2 separate regions of the Homo sapiens genome follow, and region 2 is linked to region 1. The links are contacts of gene promoters, found by promoter capture Hi-C in human tissues and cell types (Jung and others, 2019). All regions are on one chromosome and are shown on one strand. The core of a region is centred on a gene start or on the middle of the fragment in contact, and the rest is flanking DNA. Distances in the headings are between cores, read along the strand shown.

Region 1 (6,055 bases), core at 1,952-4,451:
ATAATTTTTCTTCTGCAACAAATACATCCCTTGAAGTTTTCTTAATGTGTATTGCTAGGAATACTGTCTTTCAGCTTTTGTGTTCTATCAAGGTCTGGAAAGGTTTTTCTGTATATAAAATTCTAGGAAGACAGTTATTTTCTCAGCACATTGGCAACATTATTCCAGTTGCCAAGGCTTCCATGTTTTTTGTTTGTTTGTTTGTTTTTTGAGATGGGGTCTCGCTCTGTCGCCCAGGCTGGAGTGCAGTGGTGTGATCTCGGCTCACTGCAACCTCCGCCTCCCGGGTTCAAGCGATTCTCCTGCCTCAGCCTCCTAAGTAGCTGACAGCACATGCCACCAGGCCTGGCTAATTATTATTTTTTTTTTTTTTTTGAGACGGAGTCTTGCTCTGTCGCCCAGGCTGGAGTGCAGTGGCGTGATCGCGGCTCACTGAAAGCTCCGTCTCCCGGGTTCACGCCATTCTCCTGCCTCAGCCTCTGGAGTAGCTGGGACTACAGGCGCCCGCCACCAAGCCCGGCTAATTTTTTTTGTATTTTTAGTAGAGACGGGGTTTCACCATGTTGGTCAGGCTGGTCTCTTCCATTGTTTGAGAAGTCAAGGTGAGTTTAATTGATGTTCTTTTGTCTTTTATCTCTGCCTGCTTTAAATATCTTGTCTTTGTATTTAGCTGTTTGCAGTTTCGCATCATGTGCTTCAACGTGGGTTATTGGTCATTTATCTTATTTATGATTGGTTAGATTTCTCGGATCTGAAGTTTGATATCTTTAAACAAATCTGAAAAAATCCTCAGCTGTTATCGCTTCAAATATTTCCCCTCCTACATTTTCTGTATTGTGTTCCCAAATTAAATGTATGTTAGTCTTTTCCATCCCAACCTCAATGTCTCTTAATCTCTCTTTTATATGGTTGTCTCTTTGTCCCTCTGGGCTGCATTTTAGGTAATTTATCTGGACCTCTCTCACAATTTGCAGAGTCTGTTTCCAGTTGTGTCTAACATGCTCTTTAATCCATATTAAATTCAACTCATAATTCTAATATTTTTGTTTCAAGAAGTTCTATTTAAATATTTTCCAAATTTTCTTGGTTATTTAAAAAAAAGTATTATCCCTGCTCATATTTTCATGTCATTATTAATGTCTTAAAACATCTTGAACATTTTTATATTAACCCAGTGTTGATAATTCAAGGAGCTGTGGTATGACGCTGCTGTCTTCTTGTTTCTTCTTGCTCTCATTCATGGTGCCTTATCTCCCTATGTGGTTTTGTGAGATTTGACCATGTGCAACTCCATTATTTGAGGTTCTTTGACTCTGGAAATTCTCTGCAGCCTAAGGTGAAGCTCAGATCGTCCAGGAGAACCACACCAACCACAGACTGAGGTCTTTTTACCACTAACATAATTTGAAGCCTAGCTCTAAAACTGTCTGAAGAGTGGCTTCTACTTAAGAATTCTCGAGGAATTTTCTTCTTCTACACAGCACGAAAGTCAAGGCAGGCAAACTCCCTTGCTGACCCCTTCTGTAAGGTTAGGTTATCATTTACCTTTATTGTGAGAGTGTAACCCTTGCACACTCCAGCTTTATAGTGGTATCTCCATGACACTCTCCACTGCTGTGGATCGTTGGCTTCCTTTCCTCCCTCCCACATCCTGAGCGGCTGCTCAGATAGAGCTCATGGTCCCAGGACTCAGCAGCTCTGCTTGCTTACCTCTGTGGTTCTCACTGTCAGCAACATTTTGGCTTCTGTGTGTTGGTCAGCAAGGATGCATCCACAGTGGCCAGGGAGGGTGTGCAGCAAGCCATTGGAGGGACGCAGATCAAGGCTTGACTTAGACCAGAGCCCTGCTTGATTGCCTTTACTTGCTTCCGTTTCCAAGTAGGATTTCAGTGTCATAAGAGAGCTTTCTCTACTTAAAAACTGTCAAAATGGTGAAAATCATCAGTTGAGGTCTTCTGAAAGGCCCAATTCCACTATTATATTGTGCTGTTCTAAGAAGTTAGTCATAAGTGGACACTGCTGCATTCAACATATGATTTTTAACCTCAGCTTGCCAGACTGTGGACTCAAGAACTCTAGGAAATGGTAAAGATGGCCTGGTGCCTCCTGGATGGGAGGTGGCCCCGGACCATGCCCAACAGCTGCCGGTAGCGGAGCAGGTACAGGTATGTGAGCATGGCACGGGGAAGCATCATGAGTACCTCACTGTTAGCTGCCAGGAGCCATGTGTGAGTCCCAGAGTCAATGTGGTGGTACCTGGTCAGCACCATGTCCAGGGAGAACACCACCCCTGTGCTCACGTACAATGTGATCAGCACTGAGTGGATCAGCAGGGTGCCCCTGGCCCGGGAATAGCCCTGCCCCCAGATGCCTGAAGTCTTGGCCTCTGCATAGATCCTCCAGAAACAGTTGGCAATGAGAGCTGTGCAGAGGAACAGAACGCACAGAATGGAGGTGTAGGTAACAATGACCAGGAGGCCACATCCCGGCTGGGTGCCCATGCTTGGTGGTAGGATGTATGAAGCTCCTTGCTCCTCCAGCTGGGCATCCTGCCACTTGCTGAGCCAAATAAGGAATGTGGGGAAGCAGCAGGCCACCAGCCAGATGAGGGCCACTGCCTTCCAGGCAGCCCCATGGGACATGAAGGAGAGGTAGCGCAGTGGATGGATGACTGCCAGGTAGGTGTGCAGCACAATGGCGGTGAAGGACAGGATGGTGCTGGTGCAGGCGGCGAAGACAGCATCAGTGAGAATGCCACAGGCCATGCGGCCCAGCTCCCAGCCACCCAGGCTGCTGGAGGAGATGAGCATGTGGAGGAGAATGTAGGCCAGGTCTGAGAGCAGGATGTTAGCCGGGAGCAGGTAGTGGGGCTCCTGTCGCAGCCGTTGGTTCCGCAGGATGGTCACCAGCAGCAGGGGGCTGACAGCCAGTGTGGCTGCAGCCAGCAGGCTTGAGGGAAGGAAAAGCCAGTACAGCATGGAGCTGGGCACCCTGAGGTCCCCCAGGCCCAAGGAAGTGTTGCTGGCTGCTTGGGGCATGCAGGGTGTCTTGCTGATGAGCTGGATCAGGGCCGGCCAAGCTGTAGTGCCCACAGGGCAAGGTGCCAGCTCATCCCCCATGCTTCCTGGCAGGGATGGCTGGCTTTGTCACAGGTTGTTGATTCTGCACCTGCCTTGAGTGTTGATCTGCCCCACAGGGGTCCTGATGGCACCACTCCTCTGTAGAGATGCCAGGCTCGGGCAGGCCTTAGGAATGACTGCTTAATAAAGATAAAAAAACCAATGTGAATTCAGACTCACACCTGGCTTCCTGCATTCACATCTCTGCAACTGTGCAGCTGCATGTGCGTGGGTAGACATAACAGATCATCCCACTGCCACCATTTTGCAGTCACTGACCCCTCCAGAAGTGTCCCCTATCTCAGTGGCCCCCAAACCTGTCTGCTTGGCTCACAGGGAGTGTGCAATGGATTCTCACCACACTGGATTATATTCCGGGCTGCCCTCCTAGAAAGGAAGGAGCAGCTGTCTGGAACTAGGATCGCTGGGCTGTAGACCTGGTCTGACCTCTGTCGAGCTAGAGGCTCAGCAAATTGGACCAGGCTGGAGGGGCCTGGGCGCACTCACATTTCCTCACAGAGCCTTGGGTATGGTCTCCAGCTCAGGGTGACCCTGTGCATGCGTGTGAGTGTGACTCCTACACCCCTTCCACTCAGGGCTCCATGTGAGTATTCGGTGCCCCCAAAATCTCAGCTGACTTGTGGGGTCGCTGTGTGGTAGAAACGTCCCTTCCTCTGGGGAGGAGGAGGCCTGGCAGGCAGAGACCTCATAGGAGCTAGTGGGGAGGAATGGAAGGCAGGTTCCCCAGGCACCTGGCTTGTCGGGGGTGGGGTGAGCTCAGTCAGAGCCAGTGGCCAGGGTGGCTGTTGGTGTTTGGGGATCCAGTTCAAGTGAACAAGCTCTCCCGCTCTCTCGAGGTGTTGGCTGCGTGGCCTTGAAAAGCTTTGTTCCAGTTTCCTTATCTGTGAAACACGAATGCCAACCACACTGACCTCAGGGAAACGTTGCGGAAGCCCAGAGGTAAGGGACTCAGCACAGTGCATAGCCTGAAGTAAATGCTGAGTCAATGTTAGCTCTCCCACCTACAGCATCCTCCGAGGCTCGGTCCCCTCTGCCCACAGATCCCTGTCATCACTGCAGAACGGGCTGCACTTGGCTGCTGGCAGCCTGAGACCCCTGCCCAACACCCACCGCCGGCCTGGCAGACTGCTCCAGAAGGCAGGAGCCGCGTGGGAACAGGCAGGATATTTTTAGGGCCAGGAAGAGGCAGAAATTTCAGACTCTGGGTGTGAGACCACGTCCACTGCTGCCCAGGGACCATGCTCGTCACAGCCCGAGACCACGTCCACCGCAGCCCAGGGACCACGCCCAGAACCGCCCCTGACCACGTCCGCCGCAGCCCGGGGACCACGCCCGCCGCAGCCCGGGGCCACGCCCACCACAGCCCCGGACCACCATCATCGCAGCCCTGGGACCACGCCCTCCATAGCCCAAGGCCACGCCCATCACAGCCAAAGACCACGCCCAGAACAGCCCCGGACCACGCCCGCCGCAGCCCGGAACCGCGTCCTCCTCTGAGAGCCTGTTACGCAGCTGCCAGGAGCAGCAGCGCCTGCGCCTTTTTGGCCGATTACGGTACAGAAACTAAAGGTGGTTCTGAGAAAGCCCATCACCCCTTCCAGAGAAACCGCGATGCCATGGGGCGGACCCCGCCTCCCTGCCCCAGCTGCCCTGGCCTGCACTCCCTAGGGGCCCCTTGTACTTTACAGATGCTCTGACCGGTCTAATCGGCCCCAGGCCGGGAGAGGCAGCAGAGCCATTCGCAGGCCACGCTCTCTGCGCGGGTGCCCTGTGTGCTGCAGGGCTGAGGGCCAAGGCCGAGCCTCTCTCTGCTGTCCAGCCCAGCACAACGACCCTCGCCGGCCTTTGGGGTCTTAGAATGCAGATTCCCTGGGAGAGGGAAACTCGTTAAATGACAATCCCTCAGTAAAAATGTGGTTGTGAGCTAAATCCTTATAGCCGGTGACGGGGTGACAAGCAGCAACTTCATGGAATCGGAAAGCGCGAAACTCCCAAGGTGAAAAAGCCGCTGGGATGATACAGAGCCTGCCTCCTGCTGAGAATCATCTTAGGAATTAAATAGCCCATACAACAATCTCAGAGCACCGAGCGGGTGCTGCCCCTAAGGGAACATCAGTTTGGTCTCACTTGCCGAGGTTCCCTATCCAGGCTGCCCTCCTGGGAAAATGCAGTCCGGGGCCCTAGGGAGTGCAGCCCAGGGCGCGGGGACAGGGAGGCGGGGTCCGCCCTATGGCATCGCGGTTTCTCCGAAAGGGAAGATGGGCTTTCTCAGAACCACCCTTAGTTTCTACACTGTAATCAACCCCAGATGTGGGGTCACCCAGTGCCAGCTCTGGGGTCACAGAGCTGGCCTCCCTGGTTAGGACCCTGCAGCCTTTAACTCCTTTGCCCCGTTCCTGTAATCATTATGGGTCAGGACGGGCCTGCTGGCCTTGGGTGCAGACGCGGGGTGGGTGTGCAGCACAGGCTAGTGAATCTGAACATAACTTTGGAAGTTGAATCTCAGCCATCCGTGGCCCTTCAAGAGCCTGGGGATGCTGGAGTGTCCCTGCCCTCTAGGAAGGTGGAGGTAAACTGAGGCTGTAGGCGTGCCTAATGCAAACATGTTTAAACCACAGAATGGACATGCTCCTGGGTCCTCCGGCTGAGATGAGGTAACAGTGACCACCCACAGCCTCATCGTGGAGCACCTTCTGTGCAGGCACTGAGCACACTCACAGAAATGACATGCTGCTCTGTGGGAAACTGAAGCCCAGGGAGGTTAAGTGCCCTGCCTAAGGTCACCTTTTGAGAGAGTTCAGTGTTAGTAAGAAGCCATCTTTTGGCGGGGAGCGGTGGCTCACGCCTGTAATCCCAGCACTTTGCACTTTGGGAGGCCGAGACAGGCAGATCACCTGAGGTCAGGAGTTTGAAAC
Region 2 (6,055 bases), core at 2,344-4,843, 140 kb before region 1:
ATGTCAGCAAAATAGCAGACTAGAGAACTCCAACAGAAACATCAAAAAACGAACCAGAGTTGCCAGAACCAACTTTGTAGGAGACCTGGAAAACAACCAAAGCTTATGGCAATTACATGCCATATGCACAACTTGGATGAGTCTCTAGAGAATAATGCTGAGCAAAGAAATTCAAACCCAAAATGGTACATACTATATGGATCCATTTTATACTATTCTTGAAATGAAAAAATTATAGAAATGGACCGCAGATCTGTGGGTTGTCAGCGGTGAAAGATGGGGAGGTGGCAGTGGTTATGAAAGAAGGGCATGACCAATGCTGTGGTGATGGCAATGTTCCATGTGGCTGTCCCTGTCAAGATTCTGGGTGTGAGACTGTGCTAAATTTTGCAAGATGCTACCAGTGGGGGGAACAGTAAAGGGTACATGATAGATCTCTGTATTATTTCTTAGAACTGCATGTGAGTCTATAATTATCTCCTTAAAAAGTTTAACTTAATTATGAAAGCAGTCGTATTCCCACTCACTAGCTGAGTCCTCAGAGTACCCTTTAAGGAATTTTGAGCAGACTTTGTTTATTTGTCATGTAAGAAAGAAAAGGTGCAGAGACATGATCCCTCCAAGGCCACACAGACAGAGGCGTGCTGAGCACACACCTTGTGGGCCTGAGGAGGGCCTGGCCATGTCAGCAGAATGACTTGGGAACAGAAGGCTCCTCAGCTCCCCACCAATGTGCTTCCACCAGGATTCCTGGGACCTGTTTTCCCAACACATGAGGAAGAAACAAGAGGATAAACTGTTGGTACAGCCGCCTTGTAGTTTGTCTACTGAAAAGGAGAAAGAACAGAATGCAACAGAACCACCAAACATCTGCAGGGACTGAGCCTCCGTTTTTGCTGATAGGGAGATCCCCCAGCGTGGGGTGAGTCGCTGGGGCAGAACAGTTGGTAAGCTGCTCGTAAAAAGGAGAGTTAAAAGCTACTTCTTTTAATTAGTGAAAGAAAAACCAGGGTTGAATTGAGGAATTGAGCTGCTGGGCCCAGGATGGCTAAGGCAGAGGCAGACAAAAACATCCACATCCCTCCTGAATCTGGAGAGCCAGCCAGTTTCAAAGCACCCAGGGCTTTCATCAACCCAGGAAAACGTTAGATGCAATCTATCCGGCAGGGGGCACCAAGGAACCCCAAACAGCTGTCACTTCCTGCAAAGCGGCCTGGATGAAATCAGATGGACCAGGGAACTTAGGGGTACCTGGAAATCCAAGACAGTATGGCCTGCACCAAACCCCACCCCTCCAAAGTGTTCATCACCCACCTAGCCCCAGGATCACTCGATCTGGCTTCTGAAAGGCAGCTTGGTATTCTAAAAAGAAGCCGCTAGCCACTAACTGGAATTAGACAGATGTCCTACTTAGTTCTGTCATTAGTTAGCTAAGTAAAAAGTGGGTCTTCTTTTCTTTTCCTTTTTTTTTTTTTTGAGATGGAGTTTCACTCCTGTCTCCCAGGCTGGAGTGCAATGGCGCAGTCTCGGCTCACTGCAACCTGCTTCCCAGGTTCAAGTGATTCTCCTGCCTCAGCCTCCCGAGTAGCTAGGATTACAGGTGCCCGCCACCATGCCCAGCTAATTTTTGTATTTTTAGTAGAGAAGAGGTTTCACCACGTTGGCCAGGCTGGTCTCGAACTCCTGATCTCAGGTGATCCACCCGCCTCGGCCTCCCAAAGTGCTAGGATTACAGGCGTGGCCACCGTGCCCGGCCTATTTTCTTCCTTCATAAGATGGGAGTAATGCTGATGACAGTATTTGTTGAACCTTTGCCACAGGCCAGCCTTATGACAACCATATGAGGTGTGCACTGTATCGCCATTTGACAGATAATGAAGACACAGCACAGACAGATCAAGTGGCTTTTCCCAGTCACACCAGCTAGGGAGTGGAGGGTTTGAATCCGGGCACTTTGGCTCCAGAGCCTGTGTGTGCCCATTCCCCTGGAGACTGGGGAAGGCAGCAAAAGAGCACGAGTGCCCACAGCCCTGCCTTGGCTGCCTGACTCAGAGGCTTGCTGCCTTGCAGCCTCTAAAGGTGTGCTCCACAGGCGAACACCCCAAGCCTCTGCATGCATGCCCCAGGTAGGCATGTGGATGGTGCAGGCATGTGTGTGCTGGGCCAGCTGCAGGCAGGGCTCAGGGCTGGCTCCACACAGGCAGGTGACCACGAGACCTGACCTCAGCCCCCAAAGTGCACCAAGGCCCCGTGAGGTGCTGCTGCTCCCAGCTGACACATACGGAGTTTGTGTCCTGGCCCATTCTTCTCCTCTGCTCCTTTGTATCGCCTCCCTTGCAACCCATAATCCCGAAACAACAGGGAAATTCTTCCCTCTGCTGAGGATCTGGCAGGAAAACAGTCTCCTTTCCAGTGACTTCTTTAGAAACCCCATTAAAAGACTTGCAGAAGTCAGACAAAAGAACTTGCCAGCAGTAAGATTTGCGATTGTACCCAGTGGTCACGGGGACGGGACACACAATTGGCGTGATTCAGCTCAAACGAGGAGGTGCGGAGGAGGGCTGGGGATGGCAGGAACCTAAGTCCCGGAAAGGGGCCTGGGCAGGGGGCCTGGGGGGACCCTGCTTTGGATAGAAGTACCTGGGGCTGCAGGAGCCACCAGGGCTGGGTTTCCCAAGACAGCCTCAATTTCAAACGTTCATCTGCCGTCAGTCGCATGCTCCTGGTGCCTTCTGGAGTCAGGGTAGGCTTTGCAACAGGGATCAGGATAGGGTCACGCCTGATGCTGGGCCCATGTCGCTCACACACCCTCTCTGCCAGCTCCCTGAAGCTTGAGCCCTGTGTTTTGATAACAAGCAGAGGAAGAGCTAATCCACTTTATCAACATGGCCAACTGCTAGAAATAGGCTTTAACTCATTTTTATAAGGCTAAGCCTATTTCCAGCAGAGGAAGGAGCTAACAGTTTATTCCCAGCTGGGCCGATTGCCTGCCCTGACCTGAACCGCGCTGCGGTGCTGCGAGGCCCTGTTGCTCCATTTTGCAGATGCACAGCTGGTGTTCTGCTAGGCTGAGTGCTCACCTGAGGCTCACAGCTGATAGGCATGTGCCAAGATCATCATGACGCTGGATAGGCTCCCACACCCACCCTGTTCCATGGATCTTTATTTGGGGGGAAGAATTAACCTCAAAACCAGGGAGATAAGGTCTCTCCATTTTTCCTTCTCCACTGGCAAGAGTTAAGAAAAAGTGCTTGATTTTTCATTAATGAGGGTTCAAAAGGTCTCCAGTGTAGGGGAGAGTGGACCTGAGTTTCCCAGGTTGCTGGCATGAAGCATCCCCTGAAATAGTGTCCACAGGATTTGGAAGACAACAAATGAAGGGATGAGTGATCAGATGATTTTGGAAATGCTATAAAGTTAGATTTTTTTTCCTAAAAATTTCTGAAAGCAGGTGTGTGTGTGTGTGTATGCATATATATATGTATGTATATATGTGTATATATATATGTATATATATATATTTTTTTGAGACGGAGTTTTGCTCTTGCCGCCCAGGCTGGAGTACAATGACTCGATCTTGGCTTACCGCAACCTCTGCCTCCCGGGTTCAAGCAATTCTCCTGCCTCAGTCTCCCGAGTAGCTGGGATCACAGGTGCCCACCACCAAGCCTGGCTAATTTTTGTATTTTTAGTAGAGACAAGGTTTCACCATGTTGGCCAGGCTAGTCTCGAACTTCTGACCTCAGGTGATCCGCCCACCTCGGCCTCCCAAAGTGCTGGGATTACAGGTGTGAGCCACTGCGCCCAGCCTCTTTGAAAGCCTTTGTATATTAATGAGCATTTTAAAGCTCTAGGTGTAGGAAGCTGAGGTTTAGAAAAATCCTTTATCCAGGCCATTGTGGGGTTGAGAGAGCTGACCTGTGCCCCAGCTCAGCAACCCACAGGCGGGGCCCCTTTATGCCCCCCAGAGGCTTTCATGGGTAAAGTGAAGTGACTGTTGGAGCTCGTCTCCCACTGACACCCATGACTGCAGATATGCTTCTAGGGAGCCCCTGAGCACACTCTGATGTTCACCACGGCTTACCTAGCACCAGCCACTTCCTCCGCAAACCTCAGTTCCTGGGCTGACAGCACTTAGATCTAGGAGAGCTGAGGAGGCAGGAGACCTGGAACACCTGCCCCACCCTACCCTGCACCTAGCCAAGAGTCAGCCAGCTTCGAGCTCCCCTGGGAAGCCTTCCCTGCTTTCCCTTCTCTGCCACCACCGCCAACCCCCATGTCTCGCTGGGTGACCGTCTGCTGCTTCCAGGTTACTCTGGCTCATCTTGACCATAGCCTTGTAAGAAATTAGATACCTGGCACATAAGGAGCACCCCCAAAGTGAGTTCCCTTCCCCTCCCCAGGGATGGAAGACCTTGGTTTCCACCCTGGCTTCATCCCTGACTGTTGGTAACTGGGGCAGTTGTTTCATTCTTTGACCCTCACTCACTTCAAGGTGCATGGTTCTGAGAAGGTCATATGAGATTGGGTGCAGGAAAATGAGGGCCGCACAAACACAAAGCCTCAAAGGGAAGGAACAGGGCTGAGGGCCCCTTCCTGCCCCCTCTCCTGGGCAGTGTCCTGGCAGCTAGGGACCCTGGAGGGCTCCCCTCAGCTGAGCCATCCCCAGCCCTGCCCCTGTACACTTCATGCCCATTCCTGCTTTTCCATCTCAGCATGCCCGTTGCTCCATCTGAAACACATCCCACTCGTGACATCCAGTCCTACCAAAGGGCCTACCCTGCTCCCGGGGGCTAGGTCCCATCTCGTCTGTTCAGCGTTGTCCTTGCCCCTTCAGCCTACCCTGGGCTGGGGAGGAGGTGCCACAAGAGGGAAAAGCAACAATACCCATGGAAGAAACAGTGGGCAGGCCTCCCACCCTCCAGCAGCGTCTTTCTCTGAGGCCCTGCAGGGGTTGACAGCAGAGGGCGAATATTGTTCTCAGTGGCAGGGAGACGTTCACACTGCCCCAAAACGCTGAGCCTCTTCAGCAGATGTACCCAGAAAGGCAAATAATGGAGCTTTTCAGCTGTTGCCAGAGCCAGCCTGAGAGCTCAGCGGGTCCCGCTGGCCACACCGGGTTCCACGGAGGGGGCCTTGTTCAGCACCCCATGTGTGCACACAGTGAGGGTCCAAGAAACAGCTCTGCTCCCAGTCTGAGCCTCTGGCCCCCAAGCTTAACACCGAAAACACAAAACCATTCTCCACCTTTTCCTTTCAGGGTTTCAGGTGGCCTCAGTAAGAGGCGGCCGTTCCCTAGCTGAGGGACGACTTGGTCTGAATGCGGATATGTCAGCTCCCCGCTCTGGCCGGGCTGCCCGTGACTGCTGCCTGGCATTCCCCTGCCTCACTAGCTTCCTTTCATACCCTCTCTTCTCTCTAACTGCAGAGGTCATTGTTCCCCAGCAGCTTCTACACTCCTTCGAATTCTAGACACAGTCCCTGAGTCATCTCGTGCCATCACAGATTCAAGCACTGCCTATGTGCTGGGCACAATCAAATAGCTACTGCCAGCTGCCTTCCCAGACTCAGGGGCCTCACTGCTCACCAAGATTCCCTGCTTATCTCAGGGGTAACTCCCTCTTCAGTCAGTGACACCACCAGTGACCCAGCTGATGAAGGCAGAGACCCGGAGCCCTGCGAGACTTCCTCCCTCACCCATTCCACATCTATCCGGCTCCAAGTTCTGTGGGTTACAGCTCCTGAGTGTTCTTTCCTATCCTCACACCACTGCCTCTGCTGTACCTTCCATCACCGGCACAGATTACTTCTCAGCTTCCCAACCACTCTGCAGGCCTCCACCCTTACTCCTCCTACTCTCTCTGTGGCCAGACAGATCTTTCTAAGCCTCAAATATGACAGCTGTATCACATCACTCCCTCCAATCAAAATCTGTGAAATGCCCTCTTGGTAGGCTGAGTAGGGACCCCCAAGATGTCTGTGTCCTAAGCCCAAGAACCTGTGACTGTTGCCTTTTAGGGCAAAAGGGATGGGGCTGAGGTAATGAAGTGCATGA

What was found. The method cuts DNA at HindIII sites, captures the fragments that hold promoters and counts their contacts. A contact is called where the count stands out against the background at its distance.
Region 2: a fragment that was not itself captured here is called in contact with the fragment with the promoter of GPR148 in region 1 in 1 of the 25 tissues and cell types used here (thymus).

The regions. Positions count from the first base shown.
Region 1 is chr2:130,726,216-130,732,270 of GRCh38, reverse strand. GPR148 (G protein-coupled receptor 148) reads right to left here and starts at 3,201. Exons shown (of 1, transcript NM_207364.2): 1 at 1,935-3,201. The coding sequence starts at 3,119. The coding sequence ends at 2,076. RefSeq lists enhancers at 3,472-4,050, 4,051-4,630, 4,952-5,479 and a silencer at 4,399-4,568. The HindIII fragment of the contact is 13,856 bases long and covers 1-6,055 here.
Region 2 is chr2:130,869,009-130,875,063 of GRCh38, reverse strand. The region is part of intron 1 of ARHGEF4 (Rho guanine nucleotide exchange factor 4); the gene reads right to left. Among named protein-coding and RNA genes, the nearest start is that of ARHGEF4-AS1, 35 kb to the right of the region's middle. The HindIII fragment of the contact is 4,254 bases long and covers 1,467-5,720 here.